Linked DNA regions of Homo sapiens: all the other regions are linked to region 1. The links are contacts of gene promoters, found by promoter capture Hi-C in human tissues and cell types (Jung and others, 2019). All regions are on one chromosome and are shown on one strand. Each heading gives the region's core, a stretch centred on a gene start or on the middle of the fragment in contact. The rest is flanking DNA. Distances are from core to core; before and after follow the strand shown. Region 1 holds the start of ALPI (alkaline phosphatase, intestinal). Region 2 has its middle 9.0 kb from the start of MIR1471. Region 3 overlaps COPS7B (COP9 signalosome subunit 7B).

Evidence for each region. The method cuts DNA at HindIII sites, captures the fragments that hold promoters and counts their contacts. A contact is called where the count stands out against the background at its distance.
Region 2: a contact is called between a fragment that was not itself captured here and the fragment with the promoter of ALPI in region 1, in 3 of the 25 tissues and cell types used here (IMR-90 fibroblasts, dorsolateral prefrontal cortex and liver).
Region 3: a contact is called between a fragment that was not itself captured here and the fragment with the promoter of ALPI in region 1, in 1 of the 25 tissues and cell types used here (spleen).

The regions. Positions count from the first base shown.
Region 1 is chr2:232,453,707-232,457,470 of GRCh38, reverse strand. It overlaps ALPI (alkaline phosphatase, intestinal), which reads right to left and starts at 1,318. Exons shown (of 11, transcript NM_001631.5): 1 at 1,205-1,318; 2 at 1,006-1,122; 3 at 776-891; 4 at 398-572; 5 at 149-321. The coding sequence starts at 1,271. The HindIII fragment of the contact is 7,401 bases long and covers 1-3,764 here.
Region 2 is chr2:231,881,348-231,885,149 of GRCh38, reverse strand. No RefSeq gene overlaps it. Among named protein-coding and RNA genes, the nearest start is that of MIR1471, 9.0 kb to the left of the region's middle. The HindIII fragment of the contact is 8,038 bases long and covers 1-3,802 here.
Region 3 is chr2:231,804,706-231,808,249 of GRCh38, reverse strand. COPS7B (COP9 signalosome subunit 7B) reads right to left here. Exons shown (of 7, transcript NM_022730.4): 7 at 1-763. The coding sequence ends at 605. Among named protein-coding and RNA genes, the nearest start is that of COPS7B, 20 kb to the right of the region's middle. The HindIII fragment of the contact is 7,523 bases long and covers 1-3,544 here.

The DNA of each region.
Region 1 (3,764 bases), core at 69-2,568:
GGGAATGGCCCAGCCTGTATTGCACATTCTACATCCCCAACTCCACCTCCAGAACCTGCTGACCCAGATCAGGCTTTTGGTTGCCTGGATCTGAGCCTGTGCCACCTTCCCCTCTGCCCAGCCCCAGCCCTTGGCCCGGGGGTCGCACGTCAATGTCCATGTTGGAGATGAGCTGAGTGGCGATGTCCTGGCACCCCTCCTGGCGGGCTGAGGCAGGCATGTCAGCATCTGAGTACCAGTTGCGGTTCACTGTGTGTGCGTAGGTGCCGGCTGGCGAGGCGTGCTGCACCCGTGTGGTGGTCACCACTCCTACTGACTTTCCTGAGGGTGACAGAGGTCAGGATCGGTGACCGAGATCTTGGGCCTGGTCCTGACCCCACAGCGGGCCCCAGCTCACCTGCTTGCTTGGCCCGGTTCATCACGGAGATGACCTCATTGCCGCGTGTCGTGTTGCACTGGTTAAAGCGGGCGGCTGCACTCAAGCCGATGGTCTGGAAGTTGGCCTTGACCCCGCACAGGTAGGCCGTGGCTGTGGCTGCGCTGTCTGGCACCTGTCTGTCCACATTGTATGTCTGCGAACGGAGACACCCTGAGCTCTACTTCGGGGCGGACACCCAGACCCCAACCAAGGACCTGGTTCTGGTCCTCTGGGATCCTAACTGCTCCCAGCTCCTAACTTAGGCCCCAGCTGTCCTGGCTCCCTCCCTCCTGCCACACTCCATATCCTTGATCCCTCTCCTCTGCTTGGAGGACTCTGAGGTGGCCCAGCCCTTACCTTGGACAGAGCCAGGTATGGGAAGCGGTCCATGGCCAGGGGCGTCTCAGGCCCCAGTTTGCCATTCTTCTGCCCCTTTAGGATCCTGGTGGCTGTCACCGTGGGCACCCCCAACCCTGAAGGAGCAGAAATGTGTGAGTCCTGGGCCCCAGGGTTGTCCTGGAACCACTGAAGGTCCCGGGTGCCGGGGCTGTGAGGACTACGGGGCTGGACAGGCCTTGCTCACTCACCATCGCCCAGGAAGAGGATGAGGTTCTTGGCGACCTTCTGGATGGGCTGCAGCTTCTTGGCAGCATCCAGGGCCTCAGCTGCCTGGCGGTTCCAGAAGGCCGGGTTCTCCTCCTCAGCTGGCCAGGGGGAGAGTAGAGATCAGGTCAGCCTGGCTGAGGGGGTGCCCTGTGTGTGGAACAGCTTGGGGAGCCTCATTACCTGGGATGACGCCCAGGGAGAGCTGTAGCCTCAGGCCCAGCAGCAGCAGCACCCAGGGCCCCTGCATGTCTTGGGGGCAGCAGGAGGGAGGCGAAGTGGGGACACCAGGAACCGGCTGCAGCGCAGGCTGCCTGGGTTTAAATCAGGGGAGGACTTTGCCCCTGGCTGTAAATGCTCCACGTCCCTCCCCACACCCCTGGTGTCCATCTTGACCCCGCCCAGTCCTGTGACCTGAAGCCAAGCTTGCTGAAGGGAAGGGACTGGGTGTGGCTCACAGTGTCTTGTGGGAGACGCGTTGCCACTCCTTCATTCACCTCATTCAAGGTGTGAAGAGAGGTGAGACTGGAAACACACAGCCTAGGCCAGGGCCCGGGTTAGGGCTCGTAATGTCACGAGCCCCAGAGGAGTGTGAAAGGAGGCACACTGGGTGGCCTGGCTGCCCTAGAACCCACTTGGTGTATATGGGTGCCCACACCTATGTCCTGAGGACGCAGGCTGGGAAGGGGCCAGTGCTCTGGGTCAGCCAGACCTGGGCTGGGTCTTCCAGAGCAGCCTGTGCACTTGAGGTTGACCCCTGTTCCCTTGCACAGGTAGATGGAGCCTGGGGTGAGTCTGTTTTCCATGGGCCCCGGGGAACACCCAGAAGTGTAGCCTCTGATAAGGAGTTCAGAGAGTTTGGTAACCTCAGGCTGAGTTCAAAAGTATTGCTTCAGTCCAGACATCCCACTCTGAGTGTGTAGCCAAAGGAATGCGAACTAGGGACTCGAACAGATAACTGCACACCCATGTTCCCAGCAGCATTATCCACAGCAGCCAAGAGCTGGAAGCTACCCAAGTGTCCAGCAAAAGAGAAATGGAGAAACCAAACAGGGTGCACACATACAATGGAGTATCACGCAGCCTTGAAAACAAAGGCGACCCTGACACCTGCTACAACATGGATGAACCTTAGGACATTATGCTCAGTGAAATATACCAGTGCAAAAGAACAAATACGCACGAACACACTTCTCTGAGGTCCCGAGGGGAGTCAAATACATAGAGACAGAAGTGGAATGGAGGTTGCCTGAGGCTGAGGGAGGAGGCAATGGGTTAGGGTTGGGGTTAGGGTTAGAGTTGGAGTTTAATAGGGACAGAGCTTCAAGGTTGCAGGATGAGAATGTTCTGGAGATCAGCTGCACAACACTGTGCGTGTACTCAACACTGCCGCCCTGTACACTTGAAAATGGTGAAGGAGGTAAACTTGATGTACCGTGTTTTGTAGCACAATTCAAAAACTGGTTCAAGAAGAAAAGGCTCCTCCAGCTCCACCCACCCCAGCCCAACCACAGCAGCCCCTTCTCCACTCGAGCCTGTTTACCTCAAACCCCAGGCTTGGCCCTCAGAACCCAGGGGACCTCACCTGCTGCCCAGCCTCTGCCTGCCCTGCCCCACTCCCCACCACGCCTAGGGCCTCCCTCAGGCCGAGCTTTCCCGGGTCCTCCTGCCTGCGCCCTCCTGGCTTCCCGGTGGTCGTCCTGGGGCTCTCAGGGAAGATGTCGCTCTCATAGGTCCTTCTTGCCCCCTGCTTGTTGCCCCCTTAGTTTCCTCTACCTCCTGCTTCATCTTGCTGAGTTAGGAACATTCTTGGCTGAAAGTCAGAGGAGACTCACTAATGGGTCTCCTCAATTAATTGATTGATTGATTCCAAAGTCAAGGTGAGTCAGGAGGCTTTATAGCCACCCTGAGTTTCATGTTTAAGTTGGAATTTTTGACAGAACTATAGATTCACAAGTAGTTGTAAGAAATAATACAAGCTGGGTGCGGTGGCTCATGCCTGTAATCCCAGCACTTTGGGAGGCCGAGGTGGGTGGATCATGAGGTCAGGAGATCAAGGCCATCCTGGCTAACACAGTGAAACCCCATCTCTACTAAAAATACAAAAAATTAGCTGGGTGTGGTGGCATGCACCTGTAGTCCCAGCTACTTGGGAGGCTGAGGCAGAAGAATCACTTGAACCTGGGAGGTGGAGGTTGCAGTGAGCTGAGATCATGCCACTGCACTCCAGCCTGGGTGGCAGAGTGAGACTCTGTCTCAAAAAAAAAAAAAAGGGAAATAATACAAGAGGCCCTACGTAGTGGCTCACCCCTGCAATCCTAGCACTTTAGGAGGCTGAGGCGGGAGATTCACTTGAGCGCAGGAGTTTGAGACCAGCCTGGGCAACATGGAAAAACCTCATCTCTACAAAAAATACAAAAATTAGCGGAGCGAAATGGCCTGCTCCTGTGGTCCCTCCACAGGAAATAAATTAAATAGCCTTTGGGTGTGAGCTGAAATTATCTCTCCACCTACTTGGGAAGCTGAGGTGGGAGTATCACTTGAGCCCGGGAGGTGGAGGTTGCAGTGAGTCAAGACCATATCATTGCACTCTAGCCTGGGTGACAGAACAAGACCCTGTCTAAACAAAAAAAAAAAAAGAAGAAAGTACAAGAGATGTCTGTGCACTTTGCTTAGTCTCCCCCAGTGGCATAATCCACAGTTATTATTCAGATTTCCCCAGTGTTACCTGTATTCGTGTGCA
Region 2 (3,802 bases), core at 120-2,619, 570 kb after region 1:
TGGACCATTGCGGTGATGCCCCTACTGTTCATACTTCAATGGTAGCCCTCGTTTGGGTTCCCAGACCTCAGTTTCCTTAGGTCACCTTCGCAGACTTGAGAGTCTCCCCAAACCTCCATACCAGCAGGGTGGGTGAGCCCTGCAACTCCCAGCCTCAGCTCACATTGTGCCAGGAGTGGTGCAACCCTTTCACAAGACCGTGGCCAGAGCCCTCCCACAAATCTCCTGACTTAAGATCTTGACCTGGAAGAGACAAATGGGGTCTTCATTCTTCCCTTCCAGGAGACTAGTTTGCTTGTGCCAGAACTCAGCTCACCAGGGAGCCAGCACCTGCTAAGCCGGTTTGACACCAACTCCCACCTGGAAAATGGGAGCTGATTCCCCTTCCCTTGTAAAATGAAGAGGCCATCCAGCGATTATGACCAGAAACCAGATCTATGCCAAGATGTCCTTCTGTCCTTCTGTTTGTTTAAAAACGCAGCTGGGAGCTTTATCTTCTCTATTAAAAGCAATTGTTGCAGATTACACTGAGTTGAGAGGAGTAGATGATGAGCCCCTGGGAAGAAAACAATTTCCATTTGGTTACAAAAACATACAAGCAGACTGCTGAGAAGCTGATACCCTCGTTTTGCTTGTAGAACATATTTTGTATTAGTTCTTTCCTTTTTCAGAGTGTATTAATTTGCATTTGCTCCTTTTTAGAATTTGGCTAATGACTTATGAATTTTTTAAAGACCAATTCTAAGGGAGTTTTCCCTTAAAAAAAAAAAACACAGCATTGTGCTATTTCAAGACCATCTCAGATGAATGAATAAATAAATAAACATAGCTTTAAATCCTCCAAACAACCACCCCAAAAAGAAGCTGTGGGCCCAGCATAACCAGTCTTCCCACACTAGCCACCTGTGCCCTCTTACACCCGCCCTCATCCCCAAGTGCTCTGGCCTGAGGGCAAACAAAACCGACAGCTTGCCTTTTTCTCCATCAGGGTGGAATTCTGAAAAGAAATTTGACTGAAGACAAGATAGAGGGAAACAAGGACCCTCTAAGAAGCATGAGACCAGATGGATTTACAAAGTATGGTGTGAGACGCCTATGGGGCACACTCACTGCTCACCCCGGCTTAGCACCTCTTTCTCCCTGGAGGCCGCATCTGCTGGGGATGCATTCCTGATTTTGAGCGTTCTCTACCCCAGCCAAGTATTTCCAGAGTACTGGTTCCAGCAAAAACTCCCATCAGAAGTCCATGGCCAGTGGGTGGCCATGGGGTCAGCAGAGCCTCCTGCCTCAAACCCACCCACCTCCCAGTACATGATGAGAAGGAAGAGCCAGGCTGCCTGGAAGGACCTGTTCCCACTTCTCCATGCCGTCCCACTCTGGCCCGCTCTGCAGAAGAGCCATTTCCTCCCATGTGCTACTGATTAAGTTTATCAATTCTCTCTTCTTCCTACATTTTGTTTAGATTTATTACTTCCTTTTTCTCCATTTTCTTGGTTCATAGCTTAAAGGGAACAAAGTTCATTAGGTATCAGCTTGATTTATTGTTTCTCGTTTCTCCCTCTCTAATATAAGCACTGGGAGCCATAAATCTCCTCTAAGTACTGCATTGGCAGCATCCCAGGAGTCGAGATGTGTCACTTTCATGGTTTTGTTCCTTAAATATTCTGCGGAGTCCTGAATGTCTTCCCTAATGAAAGGTTTATTTAAGAAAAGATCCGCTTTGCTGAATGCAATAAGAAACAGCTGAAAAAGACATACAACTAGAGGAAGAAAAAGGAAAGAGGTAAAATTATCATTTGTCGATAATGCAGTCTTATAGCCCCGATAACCAAATGAAAAATTCCTAGAATTTTATTAAGAGTGAAATTAGATAAAGTGAATGGATAAAAAAGAAACATTCACAAATCACTTCCTTTCCTCTATACCAACAATTAGAAAATAAAAGAGGAGGGGAAAGACCACCCCCCCCACACACACACAATAGCAACTGTAAAAATCAAACACCCTAGAAATAAGCTTAACAATAAATATGCAGAAACTCTGAAAACTACAGAATTTTACTGAGGGTTTTAAAGGAAGACAAGAGAAGTGTGCTCATGGTGAGAAGCCTCCATGTTGTAACAATGTCTTTTCTTTTTAAATGGATGTATACATTTAATGTGATGTCCACCAAAATTTTAATGGAACTTTTTGGGAAACGAGCCCAAATAATTCTGAAGCTCATCTGGAGAAATAAAGAGACGATGAGACAATTTTCCCCACCTTTCCCCCTGGGGAGGCGGCCAGAGCTGGAAGAGGAGGACTGGGGTTTGGGGAGACAGACGGGGGCAGAGGACTGACTGGCCACCACCCCAGCCCTGTGGTCCCTGTTTTCGAAGTGGTCCTGGAGACTTTGGCGGCCTCCCACTGGGGAGGATGTGAGTCTATTTCAGTCATTCACCAAATACTCACTGAGCCTCAGGCACGATTGTAGGAGCTAGGGCTGGGGCAGTGAAGAGGACAAAGTCCCTGCCCAGGGGGATCTTAGGTTCTGGTTGGGGAGGCCGATAAAAGATTAGCAAATATGAAATTTCACATCAAGGATGCTGTGAGGAAAACTAAAGCAGAGTACGGGAACAGAGGCTGTGCTAATCTAGCAGAGTGGGAAGGCAGGGGAACCACTCTTAGGAGATGGCAGAAGCCCCTTTGTGATGGGATGGGGGTGGTGGGATCATGCAGGTGAGGGCACCTTTAGAACTGGATCCATGGGAAGAAGTGGGAGGACCAGGTGGGAGCAGCTGCACCCTAGACACATCACTGTCTCCTTCAGAATATCCCATAAGGTGTGGCTCCACGTGGCTCCATGCAGTCCCACCTGATTCGTGAAACCCCTGCCCTGAGCCAAGTCAGGTAATTCCTCTCTCTAAGAATTTGAAATTCAGGCCGGGCATGGTGGCTCATACCTGTAATGCCAGCACTTTAAGAGGCTGAGGCAGGCGGATCACCTGAGGTCAGGAGTTCAAGACCAGCCTGGCCAACATGGTGAAACCCCGTCTCCACTAAAAATACAAAAATTAGCCAGGTGTGGCGGCACATGCCTGTAGTCCCAGCTACTCGGGAGGCCGAGGCAGGAGAATCACTTGAACCCAGGAAGTTGAGGTTGCAGTGAGCTGAGATTGCACCACTGCACTCCAGCCTGGGCGACAAAGCGAGACTCTGTCTCGAAAAAAAAAAAAAAAAGAATTTGAAATTCGGACACAGGCCTGAGCAGAGTCCTTGAGTAAATGGGGCACTGAGTGGCAGGGTAGGGGGCAGTTAGGCTCTGAGGGGGAATGGGTAGGCAGGACACCCTGGCCAGTTGAAGAATGGGGCAACTGAAGACAGGAGCCAGTGTGCAGATAGGAGCTGCAGCATGGGAGGGGCCGAGGAGAGAGGGACAAAGAGACAGAGCGAGACACCAAGAGAGACAGAGGAAGATAGAGACATAGACAGAGACAGACGAGGACAGAGAGACAGAGGGAAATAGAGACATAGAGACAGACAGAGAGATACAGGGAGACAGACAGAGTTGGAGACACACACACATATACACACACACACAAACCCACCCAGAGAGAGAGAAACTACCCATGACTTTCTTAGGGCAAGTCAGTGGTGGGTTTCACAATAAATTCCACGAGAATCCATCTTTTATCAATTGGTCACTACATGACCAACTCACCAAGCTTAGTCAGTACACTGATTTTCCAGTCACCATTTTAGGGAATATGCTTTTTACATATTTAATATTATTCTTTACTATCTTACTGGCATTTTAAGAAAT
Region 3 (3,544 bases), core at 990-3,489, 650 kb after region 1:
GAGCTGGGCTTAAGAGGCTGAAAACCCGTGGGTTTAGTAAACACAGCCCAGCATCACGTCCCTCCACGGCCTGAACTGGAGCTGCCAACAAGGGATGAGGCAGGAGAGGGAAAGCAGCGCATCTTGACGCCTGGCTAGAAATCACTGCACCATCGTGAGGACTGTGGTACCAGGGGCTGGAGAGGAGTGCCCCCTCCTCACAAGGGGAGGGGCCTCCTTCACAATCATCCCTGGGGGCTGGTTAAAGCTGCCTCCGGCTTATAACCAGCCTGACAAAATGACGTGGAGCAAAAGAAAAACTGGGAGGGAGACAAGCCCTTACACAGAGACAAGAACCTCCTGGAGGGAAGCTGGGCAGTGTCTGACCCTGTTTTGGGATGGCATTGGTGGAGCCCCTGAGTCTGAAGGGAACAACTGGGGAAGGAGGGAGTGGGTGAGGGGGAGTAACAGTTTTTCTGGAACAGTACCAACAGGGTGGGGAGGCGCTGGTGAGGGGACGGGCAGGTCTGGAACTCACTGCAGGTAGAGAGGGGAGGAAATGGGCCCTTGGTGTCCCCTCCCCACCTGACCCAGGCCTGGTGAGTGCCAGCTGCCCCAGCCGGCCCTAGTGGCGGCTGGAGACCAGACCTTTCACTTTGGACATCTTCTTGGTGGGCTGCCTCTGCTCAGCGTGAGGGGGACACTCCCGTTCAGCCAGCTGCTGCTCCATCTCCTGAGCCGAGGAGGATGCGGTGGCTTTGAGTGTCTTCTTGATGTTGGTAACCTGGTGGGGAGATATAGAATTGGAGTGCTCAGCCTGTATGTGCTCACCAAAACTTGCTCTCACTATGTCTTCACTTCAGACAGGAAGCTAAAATCCTCTGCAAGAAAACCTGAAATTCTCTTCAGAAATCCAGATGAGCAGAAACGAGCCTGGGCTACTCACAGCAGATTTGTGGAAATGAGTCAAGCAAAAATGTGGGACTAATGCTCTCCTGGTTGAAACAAATGGAAGGGGAACATTTGGCAAAGAGGCACATCACCAACAGTGAAATAAATCGTGATTAAAATGTCCTCAGAAAGAGGGACCCAAGAATTCTACACTCTGCTGTTATTCATTTATAAAACCACAAATATTTTCATAAAAACTTTGGGAATACAGCTCCATGAACCTTCTTGAATAAACCAGTAGAGGATGAACTTCAGCCAACTAAGTGAGAAATGAAGAAAATGTAATAGAAGTACTGGCAAAATGCTATGACACTACCGTGTGCAGTATAGCTTTCTTTCACTTAACAAAATACAGACTCGTAAATACTTAAGCAGCTCTTGAACATTTTACCACGTCAGAACAGATATCCTCTGTGACACTTGAACCCTATTCTATTAGGAAGGTTCTCCAGTTTTCCAGTTTTTTGAATTGGTTCCTAGTTTGGGTTTCAGTGCTACTCTGAACAGCCCTTTATGTTTACCTTTGCATACTTCTGTGAACATCTATGGAAGATACTCCTAGAAGTGAGCTTTCCAGATCAAAGTCGATTTACATTTTACATTTGAATCAGTACTGCTATATTGCCTGCTGAAAAGTGACTATTCCAAACCTTTGCTCCTCAGTTCGTTGAGAGGAAGAAACAGCAGGAAGAGGATGGTGGTGGTAGGGAAGAACAGTGCAGTCAAATAAGTAATAGCTTTTTTAGTCTTTTTTTTTTTTTTTTTTGGAGACAGAGTCTTACTCTGTTGTACAGGATGGAGTATAGTGGCACAATCACAGCTCACTGCAGCCTCAACTGCCCAGGCTTAAGTGATCCTCCCACCTCAGCCTCCTGAGCAGCTTGGACCACAGGCGCTTGCCACCATGCCTGGCTAATTTTTAAAAACTTATTTGTAGAGACAAGGTTTCACCACGTTGTCCAGGCTGTTTTCAAACTCCCAGGGTCAACTGACCCTCCTACCTTGGCCTCCCAAAGTGCTGGGATTACAGGCATGAGCCACCACACCCAGCCAGTTTTCTACATAGTGAAAAGGAGTTGTCAGGGTCAAAAGTTCTCAACAGTCAGAATATTATGAGCTTGAGGGTAAGAGACAGTCCAAATGCAAAGACAAAACAATGCTATGAGGGTGAGACAAAAATTGGGTTCCTGGAGGAGAGCCATCATCTGCAGAATCCACCTTAACTAGATCATAAATTGTTTTTTGTTGTCACTATTTTGAGACAGGGGGAAAAGCCATGCCCTAAACTTCTGTAACCTCAATCAACGCTGTAGCCTTTCTGAAGAGAGAATGACAGAGGACTGTGGGCTGGAACAGTCATTACAGAGGGCAGGCTGGGCATGGTGGCTCACACCTATACTTCTAGCACTTTGGGAGGCTGAGCAAAGAGAATTGCTCAAGAGCAGGTGTTCAAGACCAGCCTGGGCAACATAGTGGGACCCTGTCTTTCTTAAAAAAAAAAAAAAAAATTTTAGCCAGGTATGGTGGCATGCACCTGTAGTCCCAGCTACTCAAGTGGCTGAGGCAGGAGGATCGCTTAAGCCCAAGAGGTAGAGGCTACAGTGAGCCATGTCTGCACCACTGCACTCCAGCCTAGATGACATTCAAGTAAGACCTTATCTCAACAAAAAGACATAAAAGAAAAAAACATGTGCCTGGTGTGGTGGCACATGCCTATAGTCCTAGCTATTCAGGAGGCTGAGGCAGGAGGATCACTTAAGTCCAGGAGTTTGAGGCTGCAGTGAACTATGATTACACCACTGATTCCAGCCTGGGTGACACAGCAAGACCCAGTGCCTGGAAATATATAAATATATATATATATATATATATAAAATTTAAAAAAAAATATATATATATATATATAATAAACAGGGAGGGGAATTCAACTCTGGGTTTATCCAGTGTCCTGCCAGACAACAAAACACAATCTGGGAACCCCAGAACCCTGAGGCATCTCGCCCTCCCAGCGGCTCACTGCCACTTTGGTGTACCTCATTCAGTGAGTCACCTGGCAAGGTGGTGAGTGAATGATCTGGAGCAAGCCAATGGCTTATCACTCTTTCTCTGATAAAAGAAATATTATTTGTTTTAAGACTTTTTTTAAAAAATAGAAATGGGATCTTGCTATGTTGCCCAGGCTGGTCTCAAACTTCTGGCATGAACCAATTTGCCTGCCTCAGCCTCCTAAGTAGCTGGGACTACAGACACATACTATCATGCCCAGCTAAGGCATATTTTGATGACATTGGAGGAAAAATTAAGAAATTTGACTTCTCAGGGAACACTGCTTTATAAAATAACATTCTAAGGCTTCTCCAATTTGATATATTTTCTAAATATCCAGAAGAAAATGAACTAAAATCATAATAAGAGGTAACGACATGACTTTAGTTTATTTATTTGCATGTCAGTTACCTCTAACTTCCAAAGAAGATCCTGCAATTTAACATTACCTGAGGGAATGTGTTTTAAAGTCTCCCCAAAAGCTGACAAAATTTTAATCAAATAAGACATTAGAAAACAAACAAGTTTTTGTTTCAAGGACTGTATTTCCAAAATGGGGTATCTTTCC